7 separate regions of the Homo sapiens genome follow, and regions 1, 3, 4, 5, 6 and 7 are each linked to region 2. The links are contacts of gene promoters, found by promoter capture Hi-C in blood cells and fetal thymus (Javierre and others, 2016). All regions are on one chromosome and are shown on one strand. Each heading gives the region's core, a stretch centred on a gene start or on the middle of the fragment in contact. The rest is flanking DNA. Distances are from core to core; before and after follow the strand shown.

What was found. Contacts are between HindIII fragments. The CHiCAGO score rates a contact against its expected background, and 5 or more counts as called.
Region 1: a fragment that was not itself captured here is called in contact with the fragment with the promoter of PLSCR1 in region 2 in 1 of 17 cell types (M0 macrophages); the score reaches 5.7 in M0 macrophages.
Region 3: a contact is called between a fragment that was not itself captured here and the fragment with the promoter of PLSCR1 in region 2, in 1 of 17 cell types (M2 macrophages). The highest score is 5.0, in M2 macrophages.
Region 4: a fragment that was not itself captured here is called in contact with the fragment with the promoter of PLSCR1 in region 2 in 13 of 17 cell types (naive CD8 T cells, monocytes, naive B cells and 10 more); the score reaches 12.3 in naive CD8 T cells.
Region 5: a fragment that was not itself captured here is called in contact with the fragment with the promoter of PLSCR1 in region 2 in 3 of 17 cell types (M1 macrophages, megakaryocytes and M0 macrophages); the score reaches 6.1 in M1 macrophages.
Region 6: a fragment that was not itself captured here is called in contact with the fragment with the promoter of PLSCR1 in region 2 in 2 of 17 cell types (monocytes and M0 macrophages); the score reaches 6.2 in monocytes.
Region 7: a contact is called between a fragment that was not itself captured here and the fragment with the promoter of PLSCR1 in region 2, in 13 of 17 cell types (monocytes, total B cells, naive B cells and 10 more). The highest score is 9.4, in monocytes.

Annotation. Positions count from the first base shown.
Region 1 is chr3:146,148,216-146,150,915 of GRCh38, reverse strand. The region is part of intron 1 of PLOD2 (procollagen-lysine,2-oxoglutarate 5-dioxygenase 2); the gene reads left to right. Among named protein-coding and RNA genes, the nearest start is that of PLOD2, 12 kb to the left of the region's middle. The HindIII fragment of the contact is 4,995 bases long and covers 1-2,700 here.
Region 2 is chr3:146,543,344-146,546,043 of GRCh38, reverse strand. PLSCR1 (phospholipid scramblase 1) reads left to right here and starts at 1,437. Exons shown (of 9, transcript NM_021105.3): 1 at 1,437-1,577. RefSeq lists an enhancer at 1,108-1,587. The HindIII fragment of the contact is 8,607 bases long and covers 1-2,700 here.
Region 3 is chr3:146,130,576-146,133,275 of GRCh38, reverse strand. The region is part of intron 1 of PLOD2 (procollagen-lysine,2-oxoglutarate 5-dioxygenase 2); the gene reads left to right. Among named protein-coding and RNA genes, the nearest start is that of PLOD2, 29 kb to the left of the region's middle. The HindIII fragment of the contact is 1,564 bases long and covers 503-2,066 here.
Region 4 is chr3:146,221,760-146,224,459 of GRCh38, reverse strand. PLSCR4 (phospholipid scramblase 4) reads left to right here. Exons shown (of 9, transcript NM_020353.3): 2 at 2,368-2,395. The coding sequence starts at 2,389. Among named protein-coding and RNA genes, the nearest start is that of PLSCR4, 28 kb to the left of the region's middle. The HindIII fragment of the contact is 1,358 bases long and covers 685-2,042 here.
Region 5 is chr3:146,071,195-146,073,894 of GRCh38, reverse strand. It overlaps PLOD2 (procollagen-lysine,2-oxoglutarate 5-dioxygenase 2), which reads left to right. Exons shown (of 20, transcript NM_182943.3): 16 at 543-608; 17 at 1,230-1,334; 18 at 2,472-2,618. Among named protein-coding and RNA genes, the nearest start is that of LNCSRLR, 3.4 kb to the right of the region's middle. The HindIII fragment of the contact is 1,045 bases long and covers 914-1,958 here.
Region 6 is chr3:146,169,924-146,172,623 of GRCh38, reverse strand. No RefSeq gene overlaps it. Among named protein-coding and RNA genes, the nearest start is that of PLOD2, 10 kb to the right of the region's middle. The HindIII fragment of the contact is 504 bases long and covers 1,059-1,562 here.
Region 7 is chr3:146,186,969-146,189,668 of GRCh38, reverse strand. The region is part of intron 1 of LOC105374145 (a long non-coding RNA gene); the gene reads left to right. Among named protein-coding and RNA genes, the nearest start is that of PLOD2, 27 kb to the right of the region's middle. The HindIII fragment of the contact is 226 bases long and covers 1,142-1,367 here.

The DNA.
Region 1 (2,700 bases), core at 165-2,664, 400 kb after region 2:
AAGAGAAAACAAGTCTGGTGTTTTTATGAAGCTATTTTCTGTTTTCAGAGAGGAACCGTATCCTCTTCAGTACATTTAAATATTGTATGCTGTTAAAAAAATAAACTTATATTCATCTGTTTCAGTCCTGACCTTTAAGTCAAATAAATTAATAACAATTATGCTGGTAACTTTTTTTTTTAACTTTTATTTAGGGTTCAGGGGTACATGTGACGGTTTGTTACACAGGTGAACTCATGTAATGGGAGTTTGTTGTACAGACTATTTCATCACCCAGGTATTAAGCCCAGTACTCAGTAGTTATCTTCTTTGCTCCTCTGTCTCCTCTCACTGTCACCCTTAAGTTGAGCCCAGTATCTGTTGTTCCTTTCTTTGTGTTTATGAGTTCTCATCATTTAGCTTCCACATATAAGTGAGAATATTCGGTATTTGGATTTCTGTTCCTGTGTTAGTTTGCTAAGGATAATAGCCTCCAGCTCCATCCATGTTCTCGCAAAAAACATGATCTCATTTTTTTTTTAATGGCTACGTAGAAGTTAAAACGAAGTTTTATGGTATGTGCTACTTAAAAATTGGGGACCCTTTTCTAACTTGTTACATAAATAGTCATCAGAATACCTAGATTCAACTTTTGGATTCATTAATTATCTTTAAAATATGATTGCATTTAGTGAACTGAAAACATGGCAAATAAAAACGAAATCAGTTTGTGGGAGCAAAGTATTTATGTGCATACGTATATGTGTATATGTGTATGTACACATTTGTGTTTACTAGCCATGGAGGTTATTGTTGAGCCTTAAGAAAGGAATAGAAAGTATGAATACATTTTAATCTGGACTTCTTTGATATCTTGCTAGGTCATTGTCACAGCAGCATTTGTTCTACATGTGTTTGCATCTTTAGAATGGAGCATATCTAGTGAGTGGTACACTCTGAGACTTAATCCTTGGAGAAGATGGTGGTGTGCACTGCTTTTTTTTCTGGCTATTTTTCCTACTGTTTCCAGGTGGATTTTATGTAAATTGAAGGAAGCAGTTCAAGCAGAACAACTGGAAGGGAAAGAGTGTGACTTAATTTTAAAAACATATATAGTTACTTATACAGTTGTTTTTTACGTGTAAGATTAGCAAATATTAACAGAAGTATTTAGCCTGGGTGTTGGTTTTGGAAATTAACTGTTATTTATTGAATAAGCAAATAAATACCAGTAGCTGAGTCTTTTGTACAGTATATTAGGTTGAAGAAAAATTTGGTTTATTAAAATGATAAACTTTTATCTTATTAATATCACTTGATATTTTATGTTCCTCAAGCATAAACATATTTTTTTAAAAAATGAAGTATTACATTTTAAACAGCAAGTAAATATCCTAAAAAACCGGGCTCCTTCTCACTGAATGGCTGTGTTACACCAGTACTGTCAGCTCCATGGGTTATGGCAGAGTGGATAAGTGAGATTTTTTTTTCATGTTGAGATAAAAGATAAACTAAGAAGTCTACTTTTGAACCATAGACACAAACTTAAAAAATAACTATAATTGATAATTATATCTGATTTTCTATAACCAGATTTAAATTCTTTATTGATGCAAGACATGAATTTTTCTTAATAATTCTCAGAATATCCCACACTTAAATTAGTTTAAAAGCATATTTGGTTTGTAGAAACTTCTTTCGAAAAAGAGTCCTATTCAGTTTGAAGAGGTGATGGGAGTGAGAGGGTCAGTGAAATAGAGGAAGGGAAGTTGCTTTTAAGTGTGGTACAAAATTACAAAATATGTGACTTGAATGAGTTCACAATTAATTCAGAAAAATCTGAACTAGAAGCCACTGCTGAGTGCTGGCAAGGGAAATTATGCTTATGTAAAATGTGACACTGAATTCTTCCCTGAACAGAAATTTGGTTTGGGTAGTTTCATCCTTGGGATTTATTTCTGTGGATTATGCTTATTGTGGTTGTAGCATTTCATATTAACCGTAACAAATGGAATATCCCAGCCATTCTTTGCATGCTATGACTTTCAGCCTATGGTCCAGTGTGCATGGACCCTCTTGCAACATATACACTGAGACAGTGTATAGTGCTGAATTTGTTTTTTATTTGGTTTCAGGAAGTCAGCTGGTTACTTCAGTAATCAGCAGAGATTCAGAAATATAGATGTTGTAATATTATGCAACCATGGATGTGTTTTATATCACTTGGTATTTCTGATAAATTGAGGTACAAGTCTGTTGTGCTTTGAATTATTGGAGAGTTGTGTTATTTCCTCTTTTATTATGATTAAGTGTATTACAAAGAATTTGAGGATGATGTTTTTAAAATACTAGGGTAAATGCAGAAACAGTACAGAGGAGTGTTTGCTTTCTTGATATAGCCAGAGGGCGCTCACTATACAAGGAGACTAGAGACCTCTAACTTTGAACTTCAAAACTTTGAAGTCATTTTTTTCTCATTCCTCTGATTTATTCTTCGTATTTAGGTATAGTGCTTTGCTCATTATTTTGTCTCTGTCTTTTTTTGTTTGTTTCATCTGTAGTGAAAAGTGTGTGTGTGTGTGTGTGTGTGTGTGTGTGCGTGCCTGCCTGCCTGCCTGCCTGTATAAATAATTAGATATCTATTAGATATTTGAAACGGGTAAAGATTATTTTTAACATGATCTTAATATTGTTATTGCATTCAACAGTGATTCCTTAATG
Region 2 (2,700 bases), core at 188-2,687:
GAGTTCGAGCATTACTACCCAACCACAAAAGAACCCTGAACTGGGAATGAATGTATCCATGACCCATTTGTGAGTAAGTCAGGTGAATCGATTTTGTCCGTACTAGAAGAGGATCAATTGCTTGAGATCACAAATGATGGTGGCCTTAAAAGTATGTTTGAGACAGCTTCAAATCCCATGTTCTGGATTAAACTCAAGGTGGGATATCCTGAGATTGCCACAAAAGCACTGAAGAGTCTGCTTCCATTTCCAACATGCTATCTTTGTGAAGCAGGATTTTCTGCAGTGACAGCAACCAAAACAAGATTACGGAGTAGACTGGACATAAGCAACACACTTCTGGTGTCACTGTCTCCCACCGTTCCCAGATGGGACCTTCTAATTGCAGGAAAACAAGGTCAGGGCTCCCACTGATTCCACATTATGGTGAGTTGTATAATTATTTTATTATATATTACAATGTAATAATAATAGAAGTAAAGTGCGCAATACACGTAATGTGCTTGAATCATCCTGAAACCGTCTGCCACCCGGCCCTGGTCCATGGAAAAATCCTCTTCCGTGAAACTGGTCCCTGGTGCCAAAAAGGTTGGGGACCACTGGTTTATCCAGGGTCATCCAGGTTGGAGTGGGGTCAGGAGAAATGGGGAAATTTAGGTAAAAGTATACAAAGTTACAAACACGTAGGATGAACAAATGGGAAGACCTAATGTACAACATGAGGGCTATAGTTAATGATAGTGGTATTCAGGATTTATGCTAAATAAGTAGATTATAGCTGCTCTTGCCCCAAGGGGGGAAATGTGTAATTATAGGAGTTGATGGATATGTCATACAAATAACTTAAATACACAGAATAAAAACTATTTTAGTTTAAAAAGGAACAATATTTATAAAAAAATAAAGTGAGCTCGAAAACATTCAAATAACTGCTTAAAAATTAAAAAGTAATATCACATAATTTAATAGAAGGAAAGAAAGAGCAAGACAGCAAGAAAGAAAAGGCACCATAAAGAAAAACAATTTTGGCCCCTCCTCATTTGTAGTCTTAAGCTGCCTCTACTCCCTCGCCTTGAAAAGCCACGGGCTTCCGAGGGATGGAGGTCAAAGCCAGAGTAAAGAAAGTTCCCGGGGGAGGCCACTCCCCAGCTGATGACTTTCCAGTTCCAGTTAGTGTCGGAGTCCCAGTTCCTCTCCTTAACCACCGGACAAACGTCTCTGGAGTCTCTCCAATGAGCAAGAAAGCAAGTCGGGGGTAGGGGAGGGGCCTCACACCAGGGGGTGGGCGCAGTCCCTCCTCCAGCTCCTTCACCCTCCAGTAGTCTCGTGGGTCCCCGAGCGCCAGCGCGGGAACCGGGAAAAGGAAACCGTGTTGTGTACGTAAGATTCAGGAAACGAAACCAGGAGCCGCGGGTGTTGGCGCAAAGGTTACTCCCAGACCCTTTTCCGGCTGACTTCTGAGAAGGTTGCGCAGCAGCTGTGCCCGGCAGTCTAGAGGCGCAGAAGAGGAAGCCATCGCCTGGCCCCGGCTCTCTGGACCTTGTCTCGCTCGGGAGCGGAAACAGCGGCAGCCAGAGGTGCGCGGGCGGCTTTCTCTGCCGCCTCCTGGGGACTTGGGCGCGGGAACTGCGCGGAGCCTGCGCTGGGGCCAGGGCCGGGGTCAGGTGTGGAGGGCAACTTGTGGGGAACCGGCGCGAGGGCCCGCAGGTTGTGTTTGCTGCTCTGGGGGTGGAGGATGTGGGGTGAAGGTTGGGGCCAGAAATGCAAGAGGCCTCTGAAAGGGACCCTGGAAGTGGAGCAGGTACACGGCAAGGGGCCCCAGGCGGCCCAGCGGCACCCGGGCTCACCCCAGAACCATTCGAATGACAAGGGGTGCCCTGCCTGAAAACGCCTTGCGGGGCTCAGCTTCCCCTTAGCTACACTGCTTTACAGGTAGAGAGCGGCCCTGAATCCTGGGTAGAGTCTGGGCTCAGGAGCATGTGCCAGCGTAGTGGGGCTATTAGAAGGAATGGTTAATACAGCCTGCAAGCTGTCATTTATCAGTAAGTATTCAATGAAGTCCGCCGGAGCCCACATCTATGCTAGGCCCTCTACAATACCAGCTTAGGAAAGATAGTGGCGGTATCTAGCACGGTTCCTAAGACCATTAGCTCCAGTCAGGCTCCCCGACTTTAAATTCGGCCTCTACTGCTTCACGTCTGTGGACTGTCAGCCACTTTCTTCTTATATATGTTCTTTCCATTGCCTCATCTCTGAAATTGTGTAACTATTAAATGAGCTACAGAGTATTAATGTAAAATTCTTAGAGCAGTGCCTGGCGCTACAGAAAGTACTCAGTGAAAGTTAGCTCTTATTATTTTAAATATTTGACAAAGTTCCTGCTTCTCCAAGCTGATTCTCTGGTTCCCAGGTGGTTTCATTCATGCACTGTTATTCCTGGAAGTCTTGGCATGGCCACTTCCCAGTTCCAGGAACAGGCAGTCGTTGTTTTTTCTGGCTTATCACATTGAGATACATGGTTACTACAAGTGACACTTAAACGTGTCAGACAGTTTGGGGGCTCCCTTCTTGAACTTTTTCTAAGAGCAAACCTTTGTCTTAATGCCACCCTGTTTACAACAATAGTAGGGCTTTGAACAATGAGAAAATGCGGGGAAATGAAAAAGACATATAAAGGGAAAGAGTGGATTTATGCAATTG
Region 3 (2,700 bases), core at 35-2,534, 410 kb after region 2:
CAGTTGTTGCTATAACATGGTTATAGAGTAGCCCACAATATTTTATATTAAAAATTACACCTCATACTAGGAAAATGGAGCCTTTTATTTTTATTTTTTTGAGACGGAATCTTGCTCTGTCGCCCAGGCCGGAATGCAGTGGCGTGATCTCCGCTCACTGCAAGCTCCGCCTCCTGGGTTCACGCCATTCTCCTGCCTCAGCTTCCCAAGTAGCTGGGACTACAGGTGCCAGCCACCACACCCGGCTAATTTTTTTGTATTTTTAGTAGAGACCGGGTTTCACCATAGCCAGGATGGTCTCGATCTCCTGACCTCATGATCCGCCCACCTTGGCCTCCCAAAGTGCTGGGATTACAGGCATGAGCTACCGGATCCAGCCAGGCTTTTATTTTAAAATTCAAATCTTTGTCTAATATTTATTCAAGTTTTATTGACCATAAATATACAAATTTTGATTTTTTTTGCAGTATAATCTGTATGTTTTAAAAAATGTCTTGAAGCTTTCATAGCATTTTGAAAGTTACTAGCTACTAGAAATTCTTGATCATAATATTCCTTTGAGTTCTGTCTTGAAATTTGTCAAACATTCACTATTGGGTTACCTAACAGACCAAAGCACACATGTGGGTATATCACTGGAAAAAATGAGTATCCAAAGGGATGATCAGGAAACCTAAAAAAAAAAGTTCTTAATGTTGGCATGTATAAAATTTTTATTTGAAAAGAATGATAAAGATATATCATGGTTTGGTTTGAAGTATCTATAAAGGATGGGGATGGTCTCGGTGCACCTTGGTCTTTCACATATCTATTATCTCTGGAAGTCTTGATCTATCCTTCTACATTTGGTATCTAGTTAGTATTGGACCTTATGGTTCTAGAAGAGTTTATTTTTAACTTCATGACTCCTATCCAGGACCATTTGTCTTACAGCCTTTCTGTAAATAACTGGCGATACTTGCCCTCTCCATCCCACTGCACATACTGCTATGGTGACCAACTCATTCCAGTTTGCCTAGGACTTTTCCAGTTTTAAAACTGAAAGCCCTGTATTTCTGGAATCTCCTCAGCCCTGGGCATACTGGGATGGTGAGTCATTCTGCATACTACCCTCCACTTTTCAGCACTTCTCTTAATTTGTGGTTTGTCTGTTCATTGTCCAGAGTGGGCTGTGGAAGCCCAGGCATCCATGTGAAAGCTAGTGTGTGTGAAGATGCCCTCTATGTAGCATTAGAGGTTGGAAGTGACTTTTTTCTTTAAGCATACCATTGCCCCTCTTTTTCTACAAAAATGGTAGGAAATCATTGGATGTCTCTTGACACATCCTTTTTAGGTTTTTTTTTTCTTGTTGAAATTGTGACGTGAATTACTCTTGAGGAATTTTTGTCTTGAATTTTTTTCAACAGTTCTGCAAAATAAAATTAATTCTCTTCAACAATTCCACAAAATAAAATTAGACTTCGTGCCTTCAGTTCGTCATAGTTTTTGGTGACTCAGTACTTAACAAAGCAACAAAATTGTGTGCAATGAAACCTAGGAAAACCAAGTTTTTTAGTAACTGTGAATCCCGAGTTGTCTTAGATTGGTTACCACTTAACTGCAGGATCCTGGATAAGTCTTGTTTTCTCTTTAGATTATGGTTTCCTCCTTCATGAAAGAAGTGGGCTTTGCTAGACTGACCCTGAGGTCATAATTCACATTAAAGGAAATGACTTTCAGTCAGTGGAAGAGCAGGGTATGATTACTTTATGTACCAAATACTTATTTTCTGGAATCCATTTGGAGTCATTTTTATATCTCTCTAGCTTCGCCTCTGAGTACAGAACACAGCATAATGCACTATCCCCATAGTACCTCTTTCAGATAAGACTTTCTGACTGTAGCTAGGATAATATGTCGGACATCCCCAAGACCACCTGCGGGTTCAGTGATTCACCAGGAGGACCTACAGGATTCAGCATATGGTTGTACTCATGTCTATGACTTATTATTGTGAAAGGATACAAAGCAAAATCAGCAATGAGAAAAAACACATGGGTGAGGTCCAGGGAAACCAGGAATAAGCTTCTAACAGTTCTTTTCCAGTGAAGTCACACAAGATCTGCTTAATTCTCCAAGCAACTAACTGGTTGTGACAACATGTGTGAAATGTTTACCTACCATGGAAGCTCATTAGAGATTCAGTGCCCATAACTTTTCTGGAGAATGGTCACATAGGCAGCCTCTGTACCAAAATTTCAAGCACCCAGAAGGAAGGCAGGTGTTCAGCATAAACCGCATTGTTTGTATAATTTAGCCACAGTGAGCCATCTTATCTAGGAATGATGGGAACCCTTCCCATTGGAAGACCATCTGGAAACCATATGGAATCCAACTTTTCAGATGCCTGCCAAGGACCAACCTTACAAGCAGATCTTTCTAAGGATAGAAGTCTTAAGTTGCTATCTCTTTTCTGAACATAATAAAACTCAATGATTGCTTCAGCCCTTAACCTGTTGTCACCAGGGGAGGCCACATGACATTGAGGAATAACTCTGAAGTTCTACTTCTGGCCCTACTAGTAATTTGTTAGGTGACTTTGGCTAAGTCGATTACTTTACTGGAGTTTAACCACCTGTGAATTTGAGATGATTATGCTAACTACATAGGGATTTTGTTAAATTATTTCATTCACACCTACATGCAAGACATATGATATTA
Region 4 (2,700 bases), core at 114-2,613, 320 kb after region 2:
GAGCTGTAACACTCACCGCGAGGGTCCGCGGCTTCGTTCTTGAAGTCAGTGAGACCAAGAACCCACCAATTCTGGACACAATACTACATGTATTCTCCAGTGATTTGCTTTTTCTGTTGTGCTATAATTTTGAGATACATCTCTGTCCACGTGCACAGCTATAATTTGTTTTCACTACAGGATATTATTGTATCATGTGAATGTACCAGAATTTATTTATTCAGTCTACCATTGATGGACATTAGGCAAGTTTTCATTCTTTTAAATATGAATAGTGTTATCAAGAACATTCTTGTCTATATCCTGTGTGCATGTGCAAGAGTCACTTCCAGGTACATAACTAGGAGTGTCTAAATTTCTAGAAAGCTGTAGTCATTTTCCTTAACAACAGGGATTACCATCATTAAGGAATATGACTAACCCCTTGAACTCCTTTTACTGGCCCAGAATTGGGTCTGACTTTTTGGTATGCCCCAGAATAAATAAATAAATAAATAAATATTTATTATTTATAATTATTATATATTTGTATTATTTTATATTTAAATATTAATATATTTAAAATATAAATGTAAAAATATATAATATATATTAAATATATATTTAAAACATTTTTACATAATATATATTATATAAAAGTAAATATATATGTTTTAAAATATATTTATATGTATTTTTTAAGCTTGGAGACACATAGGGCACCGTACAACAAACTCCAGCTCCAGAGGTGAGTGGAGATGGTCCAAGACTGGTTAAACTTTCACCCGTCTTGGCAAGACAATCATTTCAGCTGGGAATCTGCATACTGGCTCGTACCATGGCAGTTTTCATTGAGTCAGCTCAGTGTCCATATTGATGACTCACTAATACGTTGTTTGAATGCTTTTTTGACCTACTCTAACTTGATACTTTTTTACTCCACTTGGACAACGCAAATGACTGTATTCTTATGAACATGATCACATATTGAAAAGTACATAGGCTTAGGATTTAGAAGCACTTGCCTTTAGCAGGGTTGGCCATTTACACATTAGAGAGTTGTTATAATCAGAGATATGTGAAAAGAATTGGGCCCTTTGCCTAACACTTGATAAGCATTCAGTAAATTATAGCCTTTGTTGATACTCTTTTTGTTATTTGTCATTACTCAGAACTCAGAAATTCAGATATATTGAAATTCCCTTCTCAAATAATAGCCTTTTTTTTGCCTGACTGAATTCAGAAAAATTTACCTTCACCCTCATTCCTTGTTTCAAATCTCGTCTCAACTTCTAGTCTTCTTCTTTGAGTTATTCTCATAATGTTCCCATACATATTTTTAATTTAAATGTTTAACTTCTTTTAGTCTCTTCTTAAACATGCCCCAGTCTAAACTTTCAATTCTTACCCTCCTCCATCCCCACTATTCCCCCACTATCCTCCTCTCTAGTTTTGTTAATAGGATCACCGTCAACTCAGTTACCTTGGGCTATGACTCAGAACCCTCTTCCACTCCTCTCTTTACCTTAGTCCATCAGCGACTCCTGGAGGCCCTGCTTCCAAACCGTATCATGCCTCTGAACACTCCTAACCTGCAGTGTCACCTCCCCCATCTAAGCTGGTGTCAGCTCTCACCTGGATTGCTGCTGCCATCCCTCACTGCTCCCTGCTTCTACTCTTGCTCTCATTGTATGATGTCGGTCAGATCTGATCACTCCACCGACTGAATCCTCCAGACTTCCCAGTTGCAAATACCAAAAATGCCAAACCCCTTGCCATGGCCTTCAGATGAGATCAGACCTTTATCTGCATGTCTTACCTCAGTTCGCTTCACTCACTGTGGCCCAGTCACTCCTAAACCACTTTCTCTTTTCCTCCCTTCAGTATCCCATGCTCACTGCCATCTCTGACCCTTTGCACTAATTTCCTATCTTCCTGGAACTCTCTTCCCACAATTGTAGTGTGATGTTTATTTTTCATAGTTGAAACAGCTCAAAGGTCACTTCCTGAGACAGGCTTTCCCTGACTCTCCTAGAACTTACCATCCGTGTTTCTCTTAAGCTTGTTACATTGTTTTCCTCATAACTGTACTATCTAACGTTAAACTTTAACATTTCTTGACTTTTTTTAAATCTCATTCTACTACAATATAAACTGCAGCACAGTAGGTGGCAGAGTGTCTGTCTGCTTCATTGCTGTACTCTCAACATCTGTATTAGTGCCTCGTACATAATAGGTGCTCAATAAGTATTTTTTTAATTAATGAAGGGACAAATGTAAGGTAACTGGAGGTTAAAAAAATTACAGAAATCCTTACCTGTGTTACTGAGTAGCAATACTATTTATTATGTATGTATTTTAAAGGCATTAACATTTTTTATTTTTCAGGATTAATTGGAATTCTTCAAAATGTCAGGTAAGTTTTTGTGAATAAATTTGAATATGCTTTATTTTCAAATGTGAATTTTGTGATTATTTTCCCTAAAGGGGGACTTTATTTCGATTTTTTTTTGTTTAACATTTGGCAAATATAAATACGTGTGTGTGTTTGCATATATATATGTATGTATATATTTGTTATTTATGTATATAGACATTCCTATCATTGTCAGAAAAAGATTAAAAAGGGACTTACAGTGGGACACATATCTACTGAATAATCTTTGAAGTTTGTGGGGAAAATTAGGTAATAAAAAAAGCAAGATTTGCAAAGCAGTTCTG
Region 5 (2,700 bases), core at 187-2,686, 470 kb after region 2:
GACATATAAGACAGACCCTAGTTAATTAGTTCACTAATTCATTTTTACAAATACTTGTTGGTAGAATTTTGCTCCTTGTCTTTTACCTTTAAGCACACCTTTATTTACCTACTCTGTGTATATATTAAAATACTGATGGTCCCCAACTTACGGTGGCTTTACTTAGGAATTTTCAGCTTTATGTTGGATTTATCGGGGTACTGTGTGTTTTTAACCTCCCACGGGTTTATTGGGACATAACCCCATCGTGAGTCAAGGAGCATCTGTAAAATGTGTAAATCTATTCACTGTAAGATTACTTAAGTTTTAAAATCCTGAGGTACAATATTTCATAAATAAAAATTTTGTATTTCATAGAATGACATAAGCATATTCAGAACCAGGCAAAGATTAGGCTATATACTGTGATTTCTGAAAATTACTATTTTGTCCACTATACATAATCATTTATAAGTTGAATAATTTCTAAAATGCATATGCTTTATACTTTTCAGTGAAGTATTTATAAAGATATTTGTTTTAATATGTACTTCTTTTTATAGGACTGGAAGGAAAAGTATATAAACCGTGATTATTCAAAGATTTTCACTGAAAATATAGTTGAACAGGTTTGTATTAATGATTACAAAGTATAGAAAATTTTGCTGTTATTTTCCAGAAGAAATATTATTAATACTACTTTCACAGAAGATGTGAAAGTGGAGAAACTACCTTTTAGGTAAAATTTATTTGATTCAATTACTGATTAAATAGCATTAAGGAACATACAGTTGTAAAATGTAGAACATAGAAATTAACATTTTAAAAGCATGCCTTTTTAAAAAGCATGCTCCTATGTGTCATAGCTTTCTGAAACCACTAAAAATAGAAACTGTTGACAGATCTCTGATGTAGAACTCTTGCAGTGAAAGCTTATCTTTGGAAGAAACTGGGCTGTCTTTCTGGAAGAGTCTTTTCTCAGAGACATCTTTGAAACATGAATTCTCTTTTAGCTTAGTGTTCAAAACTATTGTTAATACCTAATTTTTGAGAATGTAAGATGTCATCAATTCTGAGGTGCACCATTATTTATGTACCATGAGAAAAAAAATACTGTCAATAAACCATGACAGAAAACTATGTTTCCTAGTCATACAGGATTTTTTATTTTACACATATTAAAATAACTATTTTAGACTATTAAGACACAGAAGTTATTATGTCTTCTAACGATGATGCATATTTTATAGCCCTGTCCAGATGTCTTTTGGTTCCCCATATTTTCTGAAAAAGCCTGTGATGAATTGGTAGAAGAAATGGAACATTACGGCAAATGGTCTGGGGGAAAACATCATGTAAGTTGTAATTTCACACTAAGAACTAAAATGTATGTGGGGGTTAAGTAGATACTCAGAGAATTCGGAGGGGTTATATACTTTTTCTCATATGTCTCTGAGTTCTAGACTTAGATAAATTGGCTAGCCAAGGCTCTGATTTCAGTCTACTTCTCCCACCAACCAATTTTTTTAACACTTAAGTAATTTCATTAGTTTGGGCGGGTTTCTCATTTATGCATGTAATTACACTGGATGTTCCCTAAGGGTCGATGTCCTCAGGCCAGAGTTTGTTAGGTAACACATGTCTTTACAGAGTGATGTCACTCTTTTCCAAGGCCACTTTTTATTCCTTGCGTTTTCACAGTGAGCTGTGGTGAAAATTCTAAGGCAAATGTTATCTGGCTCTGAAAACTGTTTTTGTGTGTAAAGATAGGAAGGAGGGATCTGAGTGCCTTAGGTGTAATTCAGTTTTGCATTTGCATTCAGTGTCAAAGACTTGGCAGGAAATACTACTGCCAGTGGTTAGATGTGTTTCTTTCCCTCTGAGAACAGACATGCCATTTTAGCAGAATACTCTGGAATATTACTGCCTCTGCACGGTTATGTCCCCCAGGTAATGAGCTGATAAGGGAGAGGGAAGCTTAAAGTATAAGGAAGAACTTAAGTTAGTGGGTGATGAAATAATGAAAAGCAATCATTCAAAAACTTTTGAGTGTTACAAATAGAAGTGAGGAAGGGCGGGGAAAGCTTGTTTTTAGTGTTTGGTAATACAGACAGCAGATATGCTAAGTGTATGCTCATCAAGCAGCTGAGACTGCCTAAAGGGTCACTGTAAAAAAAGACTCATTTTTAAGAAAGGATGTGAGGGCTTAGGAAGTCAATTTTATTTACTTTATAGCTAAACTTCACATATACATTTAAGAAGTAGGAAAGGAGTCTACTGACCTTACATTACTTTGTTTCGTCATTGTATCATTGACAAAGCTGTTACCTAAGTTATTTTGATAATTTTACAGTTAAAGCAGATGATATACCACATTGGAACAACTGTTATTTTTATTGTCTATTATGATCTGTGGTTGAAAAAAAATACTATAATATAAATGGGAATTGCACGTGGAGTACAGCTTATTATGTCATTAATGTTGTTTCTAGGATAGCCGTATATCTGGTGGTTATGAAAATGTCCCAACTGATGATATCCACATGAAGCAAGTTGATCTGGAGAATGTATGGCTTCATTTTATCCGGGAGTTCATTGCACCAGTTACACTGAAGGTCTTTGCAGGCTATTATACGAAGGTAGTTATCCTCTCACCCCTCCAGCCTATTTCTTACCCATTTTTACACAGGTGTTCTTTTTAATGTTTTTATTAATAAGCAA
Region 6 (2,700 bases), core at 61-2,560, 370 kb after region 2:
CTCTTTAGTGATTAAGTTCATTTTGATGATACAGTTTTTAAAGAATATATGTTTAATATGTTGATCATTCAGACTTTATATACAAGTTTCAAGAAGCTGAAATTTGTATGCCTGCAGATGAAAATTTCAGTAAGAAACAAAGCAGTTCTTGTTAGAAAAAGACTCATAATTTGGAGCTAGTATGTATGTTGGAATGTGAAGTTATGTGATAGGGCCACAAGCCAAATATAAAGTCTTTATAGGAAGTCTCTGTGCCTCAGATCCTCTGTCTCTCCTGGCATAGACAGAAAACTATTCCTCCTTTGACTTCAACTCTTCAGTGAAATGGGGAATTATTGTCTGCAGTATGTAGGATAGAAGGAATTGACTAAGGAACTCACCTAAGATGAATATAACATAAAGTAACACACTAAAATTATGGCAGCTAAATGAATCTCTACATTCTGAGTAGTAAGACCCACATGATTATTTTAGCCCACCCTATTCAAGAACTAGAATATAACAGCCAAACTTAAAGGCCATACTTCCCCTACATTCAGGAGATCGAAGTTTTCTTCTATAGAGAAGTTGCATCAAGGCTGGGCGCAGTGGCTCATGCCTGTAATCCCAGCACTTTGGGAGGCCAAGGTAGGCAGATCACCTGAGGTCAGGAGTTCAAGACCAGCCTGGCCAACATGGTGTAACCCCCTTCTACTAAAAATACAAAAATTAGCTGGGTGTGGTGGTGCATGCTTGTAGTCCCAGCTACTAAGGAGGCTGAGACAGGAGGATTGCTTGAACCCAGGAAGCAGAGGCTGCAGTGAGCTGAGATCACGCCACTGCACTCCAGCCTGAGTGACAGAGAGAGACTCTGACTCAAAAAAAAAAAAAAAGGTAGCGTCAAAAGATACTGACATTGGGAGCCTTCCCCAAACAAAATGTTTAGATGTTCTCTTCTCTCATCACCTTACAAAATGTACGCCAGTTGACAAACCCCACCTTTGCACATAGAGCTGTCATCTTTTAAACACCTTTTCTGACTAGAAAGTCAAGGATAAGTGGACCATATGAGGCAAGCTTTCACATAAATATAGTGGCCAAAACAAAGGAACTGAAGAAAACAGAGCGCAGGCATGAAATTGAAGAAAACGATTAAAAAAACCACTCTATTATACTTGAAGAATTAAAAGACAGTGTATTCATAAAACAATGGACTGACATTTAAAGATGAACATTCAGAAAATAAGAAACGGCTTCTAAAATTCAAATTATGAAATAAAAATTTGAAAGAGGCAGATACATTTAAATAATATTCTAAATAGAATAAAAAGGCAAATAAATGAAAAATCAGAGAAGGTAAGGAAATTAGAGGATCAATATAGGAGAGAGAATAGAGAAAATGGAGTGGAAAATTTTTCAAAAAATGGTTCACTGAATACACAAAACAATGAATGACAGAAGATTTACCCCAAAATGCATCATTATGTCACTGTGAATTTTAGAATACTGTGAATACAAAAGATTATAGAGGGAGGGAGGGAGACAGAGAGAGAGAGAAGAGATACAGATGGTAAACACAAGCTTGATCAGAAGTCATTGTAACAATAAAACAATCTGAAATACTGAAGGAAAGTGAAAAACAATCTAAAGTTCTATATTCGCTGAAACTAGCATTTAACTTATAAGAGTGGAATGAGTAGATTTTTAGGCATGAAAAGTTTCAAAACATTTACATTTCATGAACTTTTTCTCAGAAAGTTACTGGAGGATGTGTTCCACCAAAACAATGGAATGAATCACAGGAATGAGGATCTAATAAAGGAGAGAAGTTAAGGGATTCCAATGATTACAATGATGAGAAATCCCATGGGAATTTCAGCTCCATCAATCCAGGTAGGAGAAGGATGAAGGTTTCCTCTAAGAGAGTCATCTCCAAGACAAAAGACAAAGAAATTGCTGGATGTGACTGACCCCATTGGTTGAAGTTTTACAGCTTATCCCAAAGAATTAAAATGTAGTGGTGGCACATAGAAAACTAAGCAACTGAATAAAGAATTTAATGATAGTTTAGTACACAGTAAATAAATTTAAAAGGCAATTATTAATTCCAGGAAAAGCAGAAAACATACAAGAAAGGAAACTGAATTATGGTAGATTACTTAGCTTAACAATAAATATTATTTATACAACCACAATCATGCAAACACTATTAATCTAACTAAAATTGTGACACACATGCAGAGGATTGGCGATGGTATGTTTGTGAGTGTGAATGTGTGTATGTATGTGTGTGTGTGTTGGGGGGGGGAGAGAGACAGAGAGAGAGAGATAGAGAAACAGAAAGACAGAGAGAGAAAAGAGACTTCTGCCAATCTACCATCTTCCTTGGTAGGCAGTCAACTAATAGGTAATGGACTATGTTGGTTACCCAACCATTCATAATTCTTGCTCATGGGGCCTAAATTTTGTTTAAGTTTCCAAATCAAACTGTCTCCTGTGTGATTCAGAGAGAGCTGACATCATCTACAGCTCTAGGGATAGATATGAAGCTAAACATGAATGGCAATCATTTTCCTCTGGCACGATTGGTTTAAAAATGGCCACATGACCTAATTCTGGCCAGTGACACAAGGGGATGTCTTCTAGGCAGTTTCTGGGTAAAGACAGAAATATCAGCACTTCTTTTTCTTTTTCTGGGTAACTTCCTGTCAACATAATGCC
Region 7 (2,700 bases), core at 5-2,504, 360 kb after region 2:
GTAATCCTGTGTCCCAGCTGCCCAGAGCAGGTTCGTGGTGAGTGTTCACTAGTGTGTGTAATGAGGGTGGGGAAGGTGCTAGAGCTGGGGAGATGGTAATGCCTTTGCACATAGTATCTAAACAAAAAACTTAAATTGCAAATTCTGAAAACATGTACTGCCATTAGCTAGCTTAATAGTTGCCTATTACATTTCTTGCCGTTCTTACTTGTACTGCTCCTCAGCAAAGAAGCCAGTTGTGAAATCATGTAATTTGGGGATATATAATTGCTATCTTTACCCAAAGATTTAATTCTAGGCCAGATGTTGGACATTCATCTGGGGCACATGGAGAAAAAGCAACCTAATCATGAGATAGGTGGGATGATGCAACTACCTATAATAACAATAGTGAAAATGATGAAGACTATAAAACCAGCCAGCTCTATTTAATGCTTCCTACAAACCAGACGCTGTTCTAGTTCTAAAGACTTTCCATATATTAACCCATTTAATTCTCATAACCCTATGAGTTAGATTACTATAATGATTCCCATTTTACAAAATAGAAAATGAAGATTTAGGTATCTTGCACAAGGCCACTCAGCTAGCTGTATATCCACAAAGCCGTTATGTGACTGCCCAAAGCACTGAGAAGCAAAAAGAATAAAGCTGGAGGCATTACATAACCTGACTTCAAATTATATTACAAAGCTGTAGTAACCAAAACATCATAGTACCGGTATAAACATCCAGAGGCTACACTCCAAATTTTTATGCCCTGTTTTTCTTTCATCTCTGTGTAATATTTGGTTTCTTTGTCTGTTAACCCAGAAATACAGGGAAACAGAAATAGAGGAGAAAGGTGGCATGCTACTTCATGTGTTTTAAAATTTAGGACTATGACCGGGAAACGCAAGAGACTCAGAAGTCTTGTCTGAGGGTAGCTGTCTCCAGAGAGGCTTACCTTTGCTCCTATTGGTGCCTCAGTGGTGTTGCCAGCTGATGACCATTTTTTTATATTATTTCTTCAGTTTGGTGTTTCCCAAGTCATGTATGTATTTCAAATATGAACCCCTAAATGATGTGGACATATCCTGGTTTATGAATTCTCAGGGAACAAATTTTCCCTACCTGTAGCAGAGGTCAAAACAATCAAGCTTTCTCTTAATTTCTATTTGCCAATTTTTCTATCTCACTTTTTACACTGGAGTGTGTCCCTTTGAGACTTTCCACTTTACTGGGGGTCTCTCTTCTAATATCAACCCTTGCCTAAGCCCAAGACCTCACTTCCAGCCTCATGGTGGTGGGTAAAATCAAAGCCCCTTCCTAATAAACGTTGGTGACTCCTTCCATTTGAGAAGCCAAAGAAAATGCCAGACTAAGCTTAATAGTCAGACGTTTCCAATTTTTCTTTATTTTTAACTTCTGCTAAAATCTTGTACTCTCCCAAAATCTACACTTTGCATCTAAAAGCCCTTTGGTTATATTTCAGCCACACTTTATATATTCTATGGAAAGAGGGGTTTTAAGATTATCTAATTTGCAACATTGCTAGCAATGTGAGTGACCTATTTTTTTAAACTGCACATGATTTTTATGTGAAATATTCAGAGGAAAATTCTTTAACATAAATATAATCATATAATATTGAAACTTGCAACTTATTACTATTTGTTATACCTAACTTACAACTAAATATTTTCTCTTTGAGATGAGTTATCTATCATCATATTATTGAGTTCCAGATTCTCTTAAAATGTTTAATATTTCTAGTACTACTGTTAAGTAAAAGACATTTATTTAAAATTGTGTCAGCTCTTCTATGACCCAGGCTTAGGCAAATTTATTTTAGGAAATTATAGGAGCAATCTTTTCCTTAAACAGTTTTGAAAACATGTTGCTCAAATTGTCTTAGTTAACAATCACTAAACATAGTTTACATGAGTTTTAACTTTTTTCATTATAACAGATAAAAGATAACATAGTTAGAAATCAAACCATTTTAAAACCTCTTGATTTTACAGAAATAAACAAGTAGAGAGTGCCAGGGAGAAGCAAGTAGAGTGACAAAATATTTATCTCGCTTTGCTGCCTTTCCCCGCTCCATGTCAGAAAGCTGAATAAAACAAGCTACAATAGGGGGCAGCACCAGCTCATGGATTTTTTTGTTAAACTATGCTCATTTTTTAATCCAAGAATTTATCAGTACCAATCTATAAATTTTAATGAATAGTATCAGTGGATTTTAAAATCAGAAGAAGTGTTAAGGACCATCTGCTCTACATTCTAATATACAAATGAAGGAAGTGGGAGAGGCCCAGATTATGTGTCTAAAATTACATTGAGAATTAACTAGTAATCAAACCAGAACTAAAAACACAGATCGCCATTTTTATTCCAGTTTCCGTGCCGCCACAGCAAAAATTTAGCAGAGATTTAAAACATTTTAAAGCAACATCTTTCATAACATTGAGATTTTAAGCATGAAAAAAATAAAACCCAGTTTCAAATTATTCTAATGTTCAAAATCTTTTTTAAGCACATACTCATGGTGTCTACCTCAATAAATCAGATTAATTTCAGAGGTTTTCTAACTATAAAGGAGAAATGAAATTACTATGTTATAAAAACAACAACAAAACATTTAAAATGTGTATGTCCTAGGTAACATAGAGTATTTTTTATTTATTCCTCCACTCACACACTGATATACCTTTA